2 separate regions of the Homo sapiens genome follow, and region 2 is linked to region 1. Evidence: promoter capture Hi-C in human tissues and cell types (Jung and others, 2019). All regions are on one chromosome and are shown on one strand. The core of a region is centred on a gene start or on the middle of the fragment in contact, and the rest is flanking DNA. Distances in the headings are between cores, read along the strand shown. Region 1 holds the start of DBX1 (developing brain homeobox 1). Region 2 has its middle 52 kb from the start of DBX1.

Evidence for each region. Contacts are between HindIII fragments. The study calls those that stand out against the background at their distance.
Region 2: a fragment that was not itself captured here is called in contact with the fragment with the promoter of DBX1 in region 1 in 2 of the 25 tissues and cell types used here (liver and mesendoderm cells).

Annotation. Positions count from the first base shown.
Region 1 is chr11:20,156,946-20,163,362 of GRCh38, reverse strand. It overlaps DBX1 (developing brain homeobox 1), which reads left to right and starts at 2,888. Exons shown (of 4, transcript NM_001029865.4): 1 at 2,888-3,405; 2 at 4,071-4,172; 3 at 6,124-6,326. The coding sequence starts at 3,039. RefSeq lists enhancers at 1-382, 1,507-2,006, 2,007-2,508, 5,894-6,417. The HindIII fragment of the contact is 9,910 bases long and covers 1-5,513 here.
Region 2 is chr11:20,209,539-20,215,955 of GRCh38, reverse strand. No RefSeq gene overlaps it. Among named protein-coding and RNA genes, the nearest start is that of DBX1, 52 kb to the right of the region's middle. RefSeq lists a silencer at 2,355-2,585. The HindIII fragment of the contact is 7,499 bases long and covers 1-6,065 here.

The DNA.
Region 1 (6,417 bases), core at 1,639-4,138:
TCTTTTCCCCTCCCGTCTTCTTTTCTCTTGAAAGAGAAATAGACAGAAAGCTCAGCCTTGAGACAAAGAACGCGAGTGATTTCTCCGAAATAAACTTGAAGATAACGACATAACAGTGAATGGCAGGACGCACAAAACCCCATGGGCTCAGGTCAAATGGCATTAGTCACAGGTCTTAGCCGCAGCCGCCGCGCCGCGCAGCTCCTTGGGCTATCGCGGAGTTTGAAAAGACGCGTTCAAGGAGATCACTTAAAGTAAGATCCTTTCGTCCGATTTCTTGCTTCCTTAGGATTTATTTTTCCTTTCACGGGCGGCCAGCCCTCGCCCCCTCGCCCCCGCCCTCACTTTTCCTCTTTGGCGCTTTAGGAATTCTTTAGGAGGCTGTGGAGACCGACCCCAGGAAGCAGGGTCCACGTGGATCGCAGCAAGGGGTTGATCCACCCTCCAAAAAATGGCAGGGTAGACTTTTAAAAGCCGAGAAGTTAGTAGCAGTTAGTCTATAGTGAGGCAGAATGGCTGGGGCTTGGGGTGGGGGCTAGGGGTGGCATGAAGCCTGTCGACGGACAGGAAACGGTGAAAACTACACCCCGGCAAATGCCCCAACAGGGAAGGAGGAGCTGGGAAGGGCTCACGCTGGCTTCAAGTTCTTACCGTTCCCCCCTCCAAAAAAAAACAAAATCCAAGTTGATTTTGGCAAATATAGACTCTATTCTGATCATCCGGAAGACTTGGACAAGCGCTTCACCGGTAGGGAATCAAACATCCTGAAGCCCCCGGCGCGTCCTTCTGGGAACTGGCAATTGCCCAAGTCCTTAAGACTCGGGGAGAAAAAGGGGTGGGGGGCAGAGGGAAAGGGAGTGGGAGAAGGAGGGAGGTGGGCCTGAGGAAAAAAGTAAGGGAGAGGAAGGGAGAGAGCCAGTCTTATTGCAATGGGAAACTGTCTCATGGCAAGGTTAAAGTGCAGGTGTTCAGATAGCTTATGCTTTTCTCACCTATTTTATTGCAAACTTCAAAAAGGAACTTTTGACGTTCTTCGACAGATCTCCTTCTTCCGTTTCCAGGGGACTCCAATTAACTCCAGCAAGGCGCTTCCCATATTTAAATAGCCCCTTATTTAAAAGTTGTTTCTTTCCTGATTGGTTTTCTCCCGCTGCCCATGAGCATGAGCGGTCTTGGGCTCAGAAACTCCGCACTTACGTCATCTTCTAGCATTAATTCGCCTCTGGAGCTGGGCCCTAAATAACTTTTTAATTTGAATCAAGGGAGAGTTTTAGCCGGCTCCGTTTCTGGTTTAATGTGATATAAATCGCAGATGCACTTTTATTGAATGGTTAAAGCAGCGACATGGAGATCATCAACACAAAACACCCCGAACAAAACCATCGAGAGAAATAAAGCTGGTTAATAAGATTTTTGAGAAAGCTTTGTGTTAAAAAGCAAAAAGGAAAACCAGCTGAAGGTGACAGTTAGTTCATGGTTAATAGGATCAGGGCGGCCTGGCGGGGCTGCACACTTCTCTTTGGGGAGGTTCAGCCACACTAAAGAGATGAATGGGACATTTAACACATCTGTTATCTCGCCGAACAGAGAAATGGGGGGAATCGAGTCTTAGTACCACCTCAGCCCCAACCAGAGGAAAGCGAAGGGACTGTCTCCAGGAAGATTCTCCTTTGAAGCCCCACATTCAGGGGAGGCTTTCCCGGAGTGGACCAACATTCTTGGGAACCGCATCCCTTCCCTCTGGTTTTCACGCGTTTGTGCGTTGTAGTTAATTAAGAAGCTGCCAAACCTTGGGCCAAGTTAAGGGCCCCGCAAGTGGTAGGGTTCTCTCCAGACGACGTCTGGACCTTCGCTGCTATGGCTTAAAATGTCAGGGCTGTGAGTTTCAACTTAAACTGCCGAGAGCTCCCTGTGTTTGGAGAACGGCCAGCATAGCACTCACAGCCTTTGGATACCCTTGCCCGAGGCAGTTTCCGGTCAGCCTAAGCTCTTTGCAAGCGGAATCCTGCCGCTCGGCAGCCCAGCGCCGCTCTCCTCCGCTCCTCCCGCAAGGTGAGGTGCGGACAGCCCCTTGCAGAAACTCCTAGAGAAAATCGTTTTCCAAGTTGCTGGGAATTTGAAGGAGACTCGTTTTACTTTTCAGGTATCCACCAACGCTCAAACTCAACCAGTCTCCCGAAATGAAATAACTCCAGACCTCTCCCCACTCTTACGGACACACATCCAGTGGCCCCAAAGCATCCGTTTCCAAGTTTCCCTGAGTCGTCAGAATGGGACTTCTAACACTGATTTCACTCACCCCTACATTTGCTTTATGCTTCAGCTGGAGTAACGGATAGGGCTAGAGACCGGAAAGGGAGTATATTTTCATGTCCACTGACTTGAAACTTTTCATTGCCCTACCCCCACAAGAGGGAGGGCAACTTTGCTGATAGCCTGAAGATGTATTTCTATGAATATTTATTGATTTATTTTCCAGGCTTAGCAGGGGAGCTGCAAATAAATTTAGTGGGTTCTTTAAATAATTCCTTTTCTATGAGGCAAGATGTCATCTGAAACTTCTAAATAGGCATTTAATTAGCCCGGGTGTTGCTTCGGAACAAAAACCTTTGGCGAGAGCTTTGGGGGCGCACTGTATTGCAAAGAGGCGGTCGATATGCAAAATTGATGCGCGCGGGCCTTTGTTGCCGGCCCATTGTGCGGGCCATGCTTATGAAGACTAATCCAATCATAAATTGCACCCCTGCGCCAATCAGAGAGTCCAGAGCCTCCGGCGAATGAAGCTCGAGTGGAGAACTTTGTTGAACTTCATTGTCAGAGCTGTCACTTTTCAAAGTGCTTTAGCGGGCGGGCCACTATAAAACCATCACCTCGACGAGAGGACCACGGAGGACTCGCAGACGCCCAAGTGGGATTGTTACTTGGAGACGTTTGCTAAGCCCAAGAGAGAGGACACTGTGGGGGCGGGAGGGGCGGGAAGCGAGGCGTTTACCCTCCGGCCACTGAAAGAAGGGTTATTTCGCCCGCCCGCGCCTACCATGATGTTCCCCGGCCTCCTCGCGCCCCCCGCCGGGTACCCTAGCCTCCTGCGGCCCACGCCCACCTTGACGCTGCCCCAGTCCTTGCAGTCGGCATTTTCCGGCCACTCCAGCTTCCTGGTGGAGGATCTGATCCGCATCAGCCGACCCCCCGCCTACCTGCCCCGCAGCGTGCCCACCGCCAGCATGTCGCCGCCCAGGCAGGGGGCCCCCACGGCCCTCACCGACACGGGGGCCTCGGACCTGGGCTCCCCGGGTCCCGGCAGCCGACGGGGCGGCTCTCCGCCGACTGCCTTCTCCCCTGCCAGCGAGACGACGTTTCTGAAGTTTGGAGTGAACGCCATCCTCTCCTCGGGGCCCAGAACAGGTAAGCGAGGTCAGAACCCTAAGGGCCCATTCAGGTACTAGGCATGCGCGGAGTCATCCTGGCCTCAGTTTCCTCTAGCGAGCGGGCCCCCACACACACATCGGTGCACACACAATACGCACGAACTCTGAGACCCTACGTCAGGCAATGTGAGAATAGTCCAGTCAATTCCGGGGAAGAAAAGCCTCCAGGCTCGCCCCATCCTCGGAGTGAACTTGAGCACACGCAGTCGGAGACTGTGCGCAGTCATCTGGTGCAGTAACGCTGAGCGCACGCTCCTGGACGTCTGCGTTTCTGCCTTCGAGCTTCTAGGAGACAGTTTTTTTTTTTAAACTCAATATGATATATTTATTGGATTAGCAAATATTATAAATCTGCAATTTCTTTCCTCCCCACTCAGTCCTATCTCGTTAGTGCCTAGGATGGAGATTGGGGTAGAGTGGGACGGCGCAGAGAATTACGTTGGGGAGAAAGAAAAGAGTTTTACAGATAAGACAATGTTGGGAAGATTTATTTTACCCTGTCAACGTATAAGAAAGATGTCTTTGAAACCAGATGAAGGGCTAATTATATCGTGTGTTCAGTGTGCTATACAATAGGCAAGTACGTAATCAGATTCTTTCTGTCTCCCTCTCTCCTTCTGTCCCCCCTCCATCGCCCACCAGAAACATCCCCAGCCTTGCTCCAGAGCGTCCCTCCCAAGACCTTCGCCTTTCCCTACTTCGAAGGGTCTTTTCAGCCTTTCATCAGATCTTCTTATTTCCCAGGTAGGTCTCGTCCCCCTTCTTTGCGCGAGGCAGGGCGGCGCCCCAGCCCCGGCCCATCGCTCCCTGCTCCGAAGCCGTATTTCTCCGTCCACCCCTCGGGGTTATGCTCTGGTTCAGAGGTTGCGAGGCGTATAACATTCATGAATCCGTCGCGCCAATTTGATGCCCTATTGAGCACAAGCAGTGACTGCTTGACACTTTGCACCAATTCCCTGCTCTACAAATTAGCAGGAATTGTCATGGTCCCAATTTGAGGCGGTTCCCTTCCCGGCGAGGAGCTGTTGGCATCCCTTCACGCCGCCGTTTTCCCACAGAGTCAGTGCACTTGGCCACGATTCCCCACAAAGGTTTCAGCACCATGACCAATTGGTCAGCTCCTCCGGGCAGCCACACACAGACCGGCCCTAGTCCCTCCACGCCGCCGAGAGACACCTACCAGCCGGGGCTAATTTCTCTTTAAGACTCATTCAGGGCTTCGGGCTTTTCACAAGACCACATGGGGTGCCCTCTTGTGTGGGATGCCTAGGGTCGCCCAGGGGGAGGGGGATTAGATCCTCCCCCAATCCCAACCTATTTCCAGCCTGATTTCCAAACCCCTTCTCATACTCCTTTCCCACCCTGTATTATAAAATACCGTTGATCTTGCAAAATAAGAAGCAGTTAGAAGAAAGCCCATAATTGTGTCCCAGCCTAAAACAGCAACACCTTAGGCAGCTTCCACCAGGTTTTCTTCCTGTAACCTCACTGATGATTCAAACTATGGCTCAAAAACTCTGCCACTGGTCAAAACTAAAAAGGAGGCAGGAGAGTCCCTATACAGAGAAGAAAAACTGGGTATGGCCTGCGGGGGATGGGTAAAATCACGACAGCACTCCCAAATATCAGCAAAAGAAACAAGCAATTGATTTTTTAAAGGGGAGAGATAATTCGCCCTCCCCCCACCCCCCAGCACCACCACCACCACCACCACCACCACCACCACCACCATTCACACTGCTGCTAATAATGGAATTTGCTCCCTTTCTCCCTCATCTCAATGCTCTAACAAAAACAACCCGAGCTTTATAAATAGCTTTTCATGTCCATTTAATGAAAACGATTCGGGGAAGAGAAGCTTCTGCCATCAGTATTCTCCCAATGGTCTTGGCCTGCAGTTGTGTTTAGTTTGAAAGTGTAAATCTCTTTTGTCCCAGTAATATATGGCTTTCGCTGCTTGTCCTCAGTCTTTTTCTGTTAGTTCATTACTACACAATTACCATTCACGCTTCATTAGAGTCTCTGTTTCTTTTTGTTTTGTTTTTTTCTTTCGCTTAAAGCAAAACTCTCCCCCCTTTTATCATACCAATACCCATTGGGAAGCAGTCAATGTGCTAATTAGCTGCCACTTTTCATGTATTCGGGCCGAATTCTTTACGTTTCGTGGGGGAGGGGAGGAAGGATTAATATAAAAAAGATGAATACTTATTGGATTTTTCAAAAAATCTAAATCGGATTTTTCCCTCTTTATCAAAATAGTAAAGCACCTCATTTTCATCTAAAGAATGCAAAAGCCACTGAAATGATAAAAGCTTAGGGGAGAAACACAGTGGCCTCGGCTGGATATTTTATTTTTATTTTAGTAATTTATTTTTTCTATTGCTGTTTTAGTTGATGTACGCAGGTTTGTTTCCCTAAGTCCACTGAATGGAAAAACGAAACAGGCTATTGTGGGGGCTGTTTTCTCTGTTTCCGTGGTTTTACCTAATCCGGGTTTGCACGGTTGAAAGGGAAAGTTGTTTGGGCGGAAAGCGCCTTTCACTCTCGCAGGTTTGTAGGTTCGTGGCCTATTCTCCAGGGGGAGAAAAAGGAGCGTTTTAAAGAGATGAAGGGATCAGAGCAAAAAGCCAGGGAGAGCCGTGTTGGGACTGGGGGGCGTACGCCCACTCACTCGCCACCTCCCCCCACCCTGCAGCTTCCTCCAGCGTGGTGCCCATCCCCGGGACCTTCTCCTGGCCGCTGGCCGCGCGCGGGAAGCCTCGGCGGGGCATGCTGCGTCGAGCAGTCTTCTCCGACGTGCAGCGGAAGGCGCTGGAGAAGATGTTCCAGAAGCAGAAGTACATCAGCAAGCCCGACCGCAAGAAGCTGGCGGCCAAGCTGGGCCTGAAAGACTCGCAGGTGAGCGCATTTCCTCCACAGCACCCCCCCCGCCCCCGCCCTTCACCCCTCCCCGGCGCACCCGTCAATTGCAAGGGTTCGGAAACGGCTT
Region 2 (6,417 bases), core at 1,067-3,566, 53 kb before region 1:
TAGTGCATGCACACACATATTCATCCACCTATTCAGGTGTTCCCACGTAATGGCTGCCAAAGAGGTGGCCAATCCAGTTGTGAACAATGCAGGGAGGCTCTAAAGCTCTGGCATGATCTCCCTGATCAGTCACCTATTTTCCTCCCTCTTTCCTCAGAAGAGTTCCACCTTTTCTCTTATATGGTTTTATTTTAACATCATCCAGTGTGTTTCTGCTTTCGGAGTACATGACATTCACTAGATGCCAACGGGTTGTAATCTAGCTAAGGCCTAATCTCCAGAAGCCTCTTTTGTAGGCAACTGGTGAACACTGCTGATGATATGCCTGATGGCGCCCACGCCCAGGCCAGCACATGGTCCCCGAGTGCTATGTTTAGGAAAACATGGCAATTATTGTTACGAGGCATTTCAAGGCTCTAGTGACCTTGTGTGATCACAGGTCACAGTCTCTTGACTATTGTCATTATAAATGGCTTTAAATAGCCTCTCCTTGTTAGGCTTCCATCTCCTTATTTGTAAGTTGAGGGGCTTGAATAGGTCATTTTTCAAGTCCTTTTCATCGATATCATTCTACGGTACCAAGCCTCTTTGGCTTTGACCTCCAAAACCAGTTTTTCAATGGGGCAATGTCCACAGACAGGCCAGATCATTGAAGAAAAAGAAACCAAGGCCAGATATGTTTTTTTCCCAAAGCCCAAGAGATTACCAAGCACAAAGCAAACGTTGGACCCAGAAGTTGCTAGCCACTTAGTGTCTGTGATAGCTAGCTTTATGTGTCAACTTAGCTAGGCTATAGCAACCACTTATTTAATCAAACTCCAAGCTAGATATTGCTGTATGTTCTGTAGATGTGATTATGATATATAATCAGTTCACTTTAAATAAAAGAGATTGCCCTCAATAATATGGATGACCCTCATCTAATCAGTTGAAAGCCTTAAAAGCAAAAACTGCAGTTTCCCAAAGAAGAAATTCAGTCTCAAGACTGAATTCTTGAGAATTCAAGAATTCAATAACAACAACTCCTACCTTAGTTTCCAGCCTGGCAGTCTGCCCTATAGATTTCAAACTTGCAGCTTCCACAATCTCATGAGCCAATTTTTAAAAATAAATATCTTAACACACATATATGTGTATGTATATATATATAAATACATATGTATATGTATACATGTGTATCTATCTACATCTATATTTATAGCAATTGTCTAATCTAATCTATTTATCTAATTGGTCTGTTTCTCTGGAGTATCCTGACTGATGGTATCTGAGAGGTCTGCAGGGAGAAGGGACAGTTGGTGATGTCCATTCTGATGATGATAAATGCAGAGGATGAAAGTGCAGCTGAGTTTTTAGTTTTCATCTCAGAAAGAAGCAAGAACACTAGTTCATAGGCTTTGATTCCAAAATCCTGTAAGACTTAAAATCACTGCACTATGTTCAAGTTGACCACTTTTGTTACTTTCCCCGTTTCTGCACATTAGCAGTGATAAAACTGTTCAATGCCAAAGTATTATGTCTAGTTTCAGATGTGGCATAAAATGTGCAAAAGAGTGAGATGCACCTGACTGCAATTGTACTTAGGAAAGGGAGAATCTCAAAGGGAAGGGCTAGGGGCAGGACCCTAAGTCCCAAGAGCAGGCTGAGACCCCAAATCCATGGCCATCAGGAACAAAATATACTGGAAGGCACATTCCAGGCAAGGCCCTAAGGGTTAACAGCAGAAAGGCCTCTGATGTCTCCCCTTCCCTAAGAGTCCACAGTTTTTAGCACTGATTAGAGGGTATATAGAGATAATCCTCATGCCCAATACTGCTTTTCTCTTCTGTGCTGACTTATAGGATGGTAAGCATCTAGCAGCAAAAAAACTACAAACGAGGCTGGCAGGTGTACTCATGATACATGTATGCTTTCCCAGGCAGTCATTCTAAGAAAGCCTTTATCTGTCATGGCCAGCTCCAGCAGGTGATGCTTTCAGTTTCCACTAATTCAATTTGTGTAGAAATAAGCATAGCTCATTGGCTAAATCTGTCTTTCTCTTAGAGAGGAACTTGATATGGCTTGAAGTGGCCAGCTTAATTCTCATCTCCTATTACAGTCAGGAAGCTATATTTTTATTTGGTTAAAATTAAGAAATCTGATATCTGGAAAAGACCTTAGAACACATCAAGTTTAGCCTCTTCTTTTAATGGTAAGGACCTGGAAGTCCACAGAGAAACACACCCAAATAAGGCAACTGAGAAAATAAGTGGTGGGGATCAGAAATGACACAGTAAGATATCAATCCAGGGTGCTCAAGTGTGGGGTCAGGTGGAAGTGAGAATGCATGTTGAGGGTGATGACATGGATGTTCATCTGCCGGTAGGAATGGCATCCTGGTCATCTGGTCCAAACTCTCCCCCAAAACCCCTACACTATTTCCAATCTCTGCTTAAATACTTTTCAGGATGAAAGTCTCACAATTTTTTTTTTTTTTTTTTTTTGAAACACAGTCTTGCTCTGTTACCCAGGCTAGGGTGCAGTGGCACGATCTCAGCTCATTGCAACCTCTGCCTCCCGGGTTCAAGCGATTTTTCTACCTCAGCCTCCCGAGTAGCTGGGACTACAGGCGCAAGCCACCACGCCTGGCTAATTTTTGTATTTCTAGTAGAGACAGGGTTTCACCATATTGGCCAGGCTGGTCTCAAACTCCTGACCTCAGATGATACGCCCTCCTCGGACTCCCAAAGTGCTGGGATTACAGGCGTGAGTCACTGCACCGGGACCAGAAATGGTAAAAAGGCTAACGAAGGTCAAACAAGAGACAGAATCACGGGCAAAAGGGGCACATTAAGGGTTTTCTGGACGTCAGGAAGGGACTGCGGGGGCAGCTTTAGAAGGGGCCGGAGCCCGCCCCTGCACGCAGCTCACGCAGAAAGCGCCTGGACACTTCCTTAGGACCTTTTGCATTCTGGCCGCTCGACAAAAACACCCTTTTGAAAAGGTGGTATTCACTGGGCTGTCAGAATTGAGGAACACCAAATTAAGGCCAACAGAACCGTGTTGGGCTCAGAACTGAGCCTTGGTTTTAATCCTGATGCTTTGGATTAATACCAGGTGCTAATTAGTTGACCCAAGACAAAGGTTTGGATTATTTTCAGAAAGAATTAAATCTGTCTCCTTAAAATTTCTATCTATTGCCCCAGTGATTCTTACCTTGCCTGCACATTAGGCTCACCTGTGGAACTTTTTAAGTGTCCTGATAGGCAGGTTACACAGCTGGCCAATCAAATCAGAATTTCTGAGGGTAGAACCCAGGCATTTGCCTAAAGCTCCTCAGTGATCCTAATAGGGAGCCAAGATTGAAAACCACTGCATTTGGCTCCATTCTTGTATTAGTCTGCTGGGGGGTGCCATAATAAAATACCTTAGACTCAGTGGGTTAAACAACAGAAATTTATTTTCTCATAGTTCTAGGGGCTGGAAGTCCGAGAGATGAGTGCTGGCAAGTTTGGTTTCCCCTGAGGCCTCTCTCCTTGGCTTGCAGAGGGCCGCCTTCTTGCTGTGTCCTCACTTGGCCTTTGCTCTTTGGGCTTGCATCCCTGGTGTCTCTCCCTTTTCTTAGAAGAACACCAGTCACATTGAATTAGGGCCCCAGCCCTATGACTTCATTTAACTTTAGTTACCTCCTTAAAGACCCTTTCTCCAAATATAGTCACATTGGAAGTTATGGCTTCAACATATGAATTTTGGGAGGACACAAGTCAGTTCATAACAGTTCTGCTCATTGACTAGAACTGGTTGGGTCAGAGTACCTTACCCAATGTGCTGTGGCACCCACCGGTAGCATCATGTTAGGCTGTGAGGGTGGCCACTAGAGGCCCTGGGATAGCAACCTCTGGCTTTATGGGATCTACTCAAGCACCCAGTGAGTTGAGCATGGCCTGGATTTCTCCTTTCACAGTCAGCTGCAGGGCACCCACGGAGATACTAGAGGAATTTCAGGTGCCCAAAGAGCCCAGAGCTAGAGGGCGGGAGACCTCTGTAGAGAGCTACAGACCAAGGAGGCGGGAGCTAGAGACCACACAGGTGCATCTCCAGGTGGTGGTTTCTACCCTCTCCTTTCCCATATGTCAGATGACATATTGTAACAAATGAGCTGGTGTGTTAGGCAAGCAGACTCTGCAAATTAGAGTTTCATTATTTTGAAGTGCTTCGTATTTATGTGGCTAGAACAGTACCTGAACATAGTAATCTTCAATAAATATTTGTTGAATGAACACATAAATACAGTAAATGAAAACATTTGATTGGATTTGAAATTCATTTAAAATACCAAAGATTTTAGCACTAAAAGTTCTAAAATTTAACTGCAATTATTAAAATTTTTGAATGATGATAAAAATAGTTTAACTTATGTTTCCTGTGTGAATACAAGTTTTCACTGATTGTGTTTTTCAGGAATTTTAAGAGCTTATTGTTAAGTAGTCTTTGTTAGAATTGTATAAGCTATTTCAAGCTTAAAACCATTTTTTTTTCAAGTCTTGATCATTGAAGCAATGTTCCCCCTTGTTCCCAAGCAATATTCCCAAACAAGTTTCTCATCACATTTTTAAGAGATTTTATTTGAAATATATTTTTGACGTATTTACTTGTGTTACATATTTGAGATTTAAATCCTTCCTAATACTTTGTATTTGATTTTTCTTATAATCGTATCATATATAGAAAAACAGTGAAAAATTTCACCTTAGACATCTGCAAATCTCCTCTAGTTTATCCAGCTAAATCTTACAAATATTATCAATTAGTATATGTGTTATGACACGAAAATGGATAGAAAACAGTCTTCTACTTCTCTCAGTAAATGGCACCCCCATCTAAATTACTAAACCAAAAACCTGGGAGTCATCCTGATTTTTGTTCCTCCTGCTCTAAATCCCATCCTTTCAAAATTATCCCCACTGCCCACTCCTTTCCCTTTGACTAAGCCACAATTATCTCTTGCCTGGACTACTGCAAAAGACTCCTAACTGCTCTGCCATCTTCTGCATTTCTTGCCCTTCTACAATTTCTTCTTCTAATGACAGCCCGAGTGTCCTTTTAAAACCTTAAATAGATCAAGTAATGTCTCCCCAACTCTCTGAACTTTTTAAAACCACCCAAAGTCACTTCAAATAAAACCTAGGCTCCTTCCTATGGCCTAAGGGGCTCTACATGAGCTGGCTTTTGTCTTCCACTCCAGCCTTATCTACTGTTCTTCCATAGCATGTCATGCTCCAGGCACACTGGCCTTCTCTCTGATACCTGGGGAGAGAATACCCCAAACCAAAGACCAAGGCCAAGTGGAGATACCAAGCAAGCAAATAGATATACAGAGAGTCTAGGGTTCAGGGGGACACTGAGCTGGAGGTATAACTCTGGGTGTCTAGTAGAAACCTACAAGGCTGGAGGAGTGCACCCAGGAGGTGAAGCCTAAAAAGAACAGTACTCAAGACTGAGCCATGGGGCTCTCCAACATTTTGAGGTCAGGGAAATGAAAAGGCATCTGTTAATTAGCTCAAGTGACTCTTTCTATAATGTGTACATAGATCAAAACATCACACTGTACTCCATACACACATACAATTATTTATCAACTAAAAATAAATTTTAAATTTTAAAAAGGAATCTGTAAGGCTCAGAAGCAGCAACCAGTGGCATAGGAAAAAAATCAGATTTGGGGGCCTTCATAGCACTCTGAGAAGTTTGTTAAAAATATACATTTTTTCCCCATAATCTATCCACCGGAGTTTTGTTTCAGTATGAAGATGGACACCCAAAATTTGTTTGTTTGTTTGTTTTTTAAACAAGCTTAGTGTTGTTATCATAAGAGAAACCTGGGAAACGCTGCGTTAGAGCTTGGCCCAATCAGAAGAATCACCTGTGTGGGGCCTTGTTCAACCATGTACCTTCCAGGGACCATATCCCCCAAAACACTGAATCTGGATCCCCAGGGGACTTAGAGCTTGGCAGCTCATCATCCAAACTTCAAACTTATTATTCCTTCTTAGGACTTGTTCCAAAACAAGCCACATGGTTTTGCTTCGGAGCCGATGAATCAGTAGTTCTCGCTCCATTTACAAAGGCTGATATGCTATTTCTACCACTGGAGGTGCTTTCTCTAAAACCATGTGGAATTTATTTCAGTTCATGTATGGTATGTTAGGGTCTTGGCCAAGAGTCTTAAGTAGGAACTAGAATTACAATAAACAAACAAATGGGAATCTCTCATGTAGACCTAATGGTAAAACTAAGAGCTTGAGCTCTTCACCCAAGCTTCTCAGCTGATCTTGGCTTTCAAAAGCACAGGGAGTTATTTTCTCTGAGTCTCCGGAACCACATTTACTTTTCCCAAGTGTTCTGAATCTGATGATGCCAAAATGGTACTTAACAGCC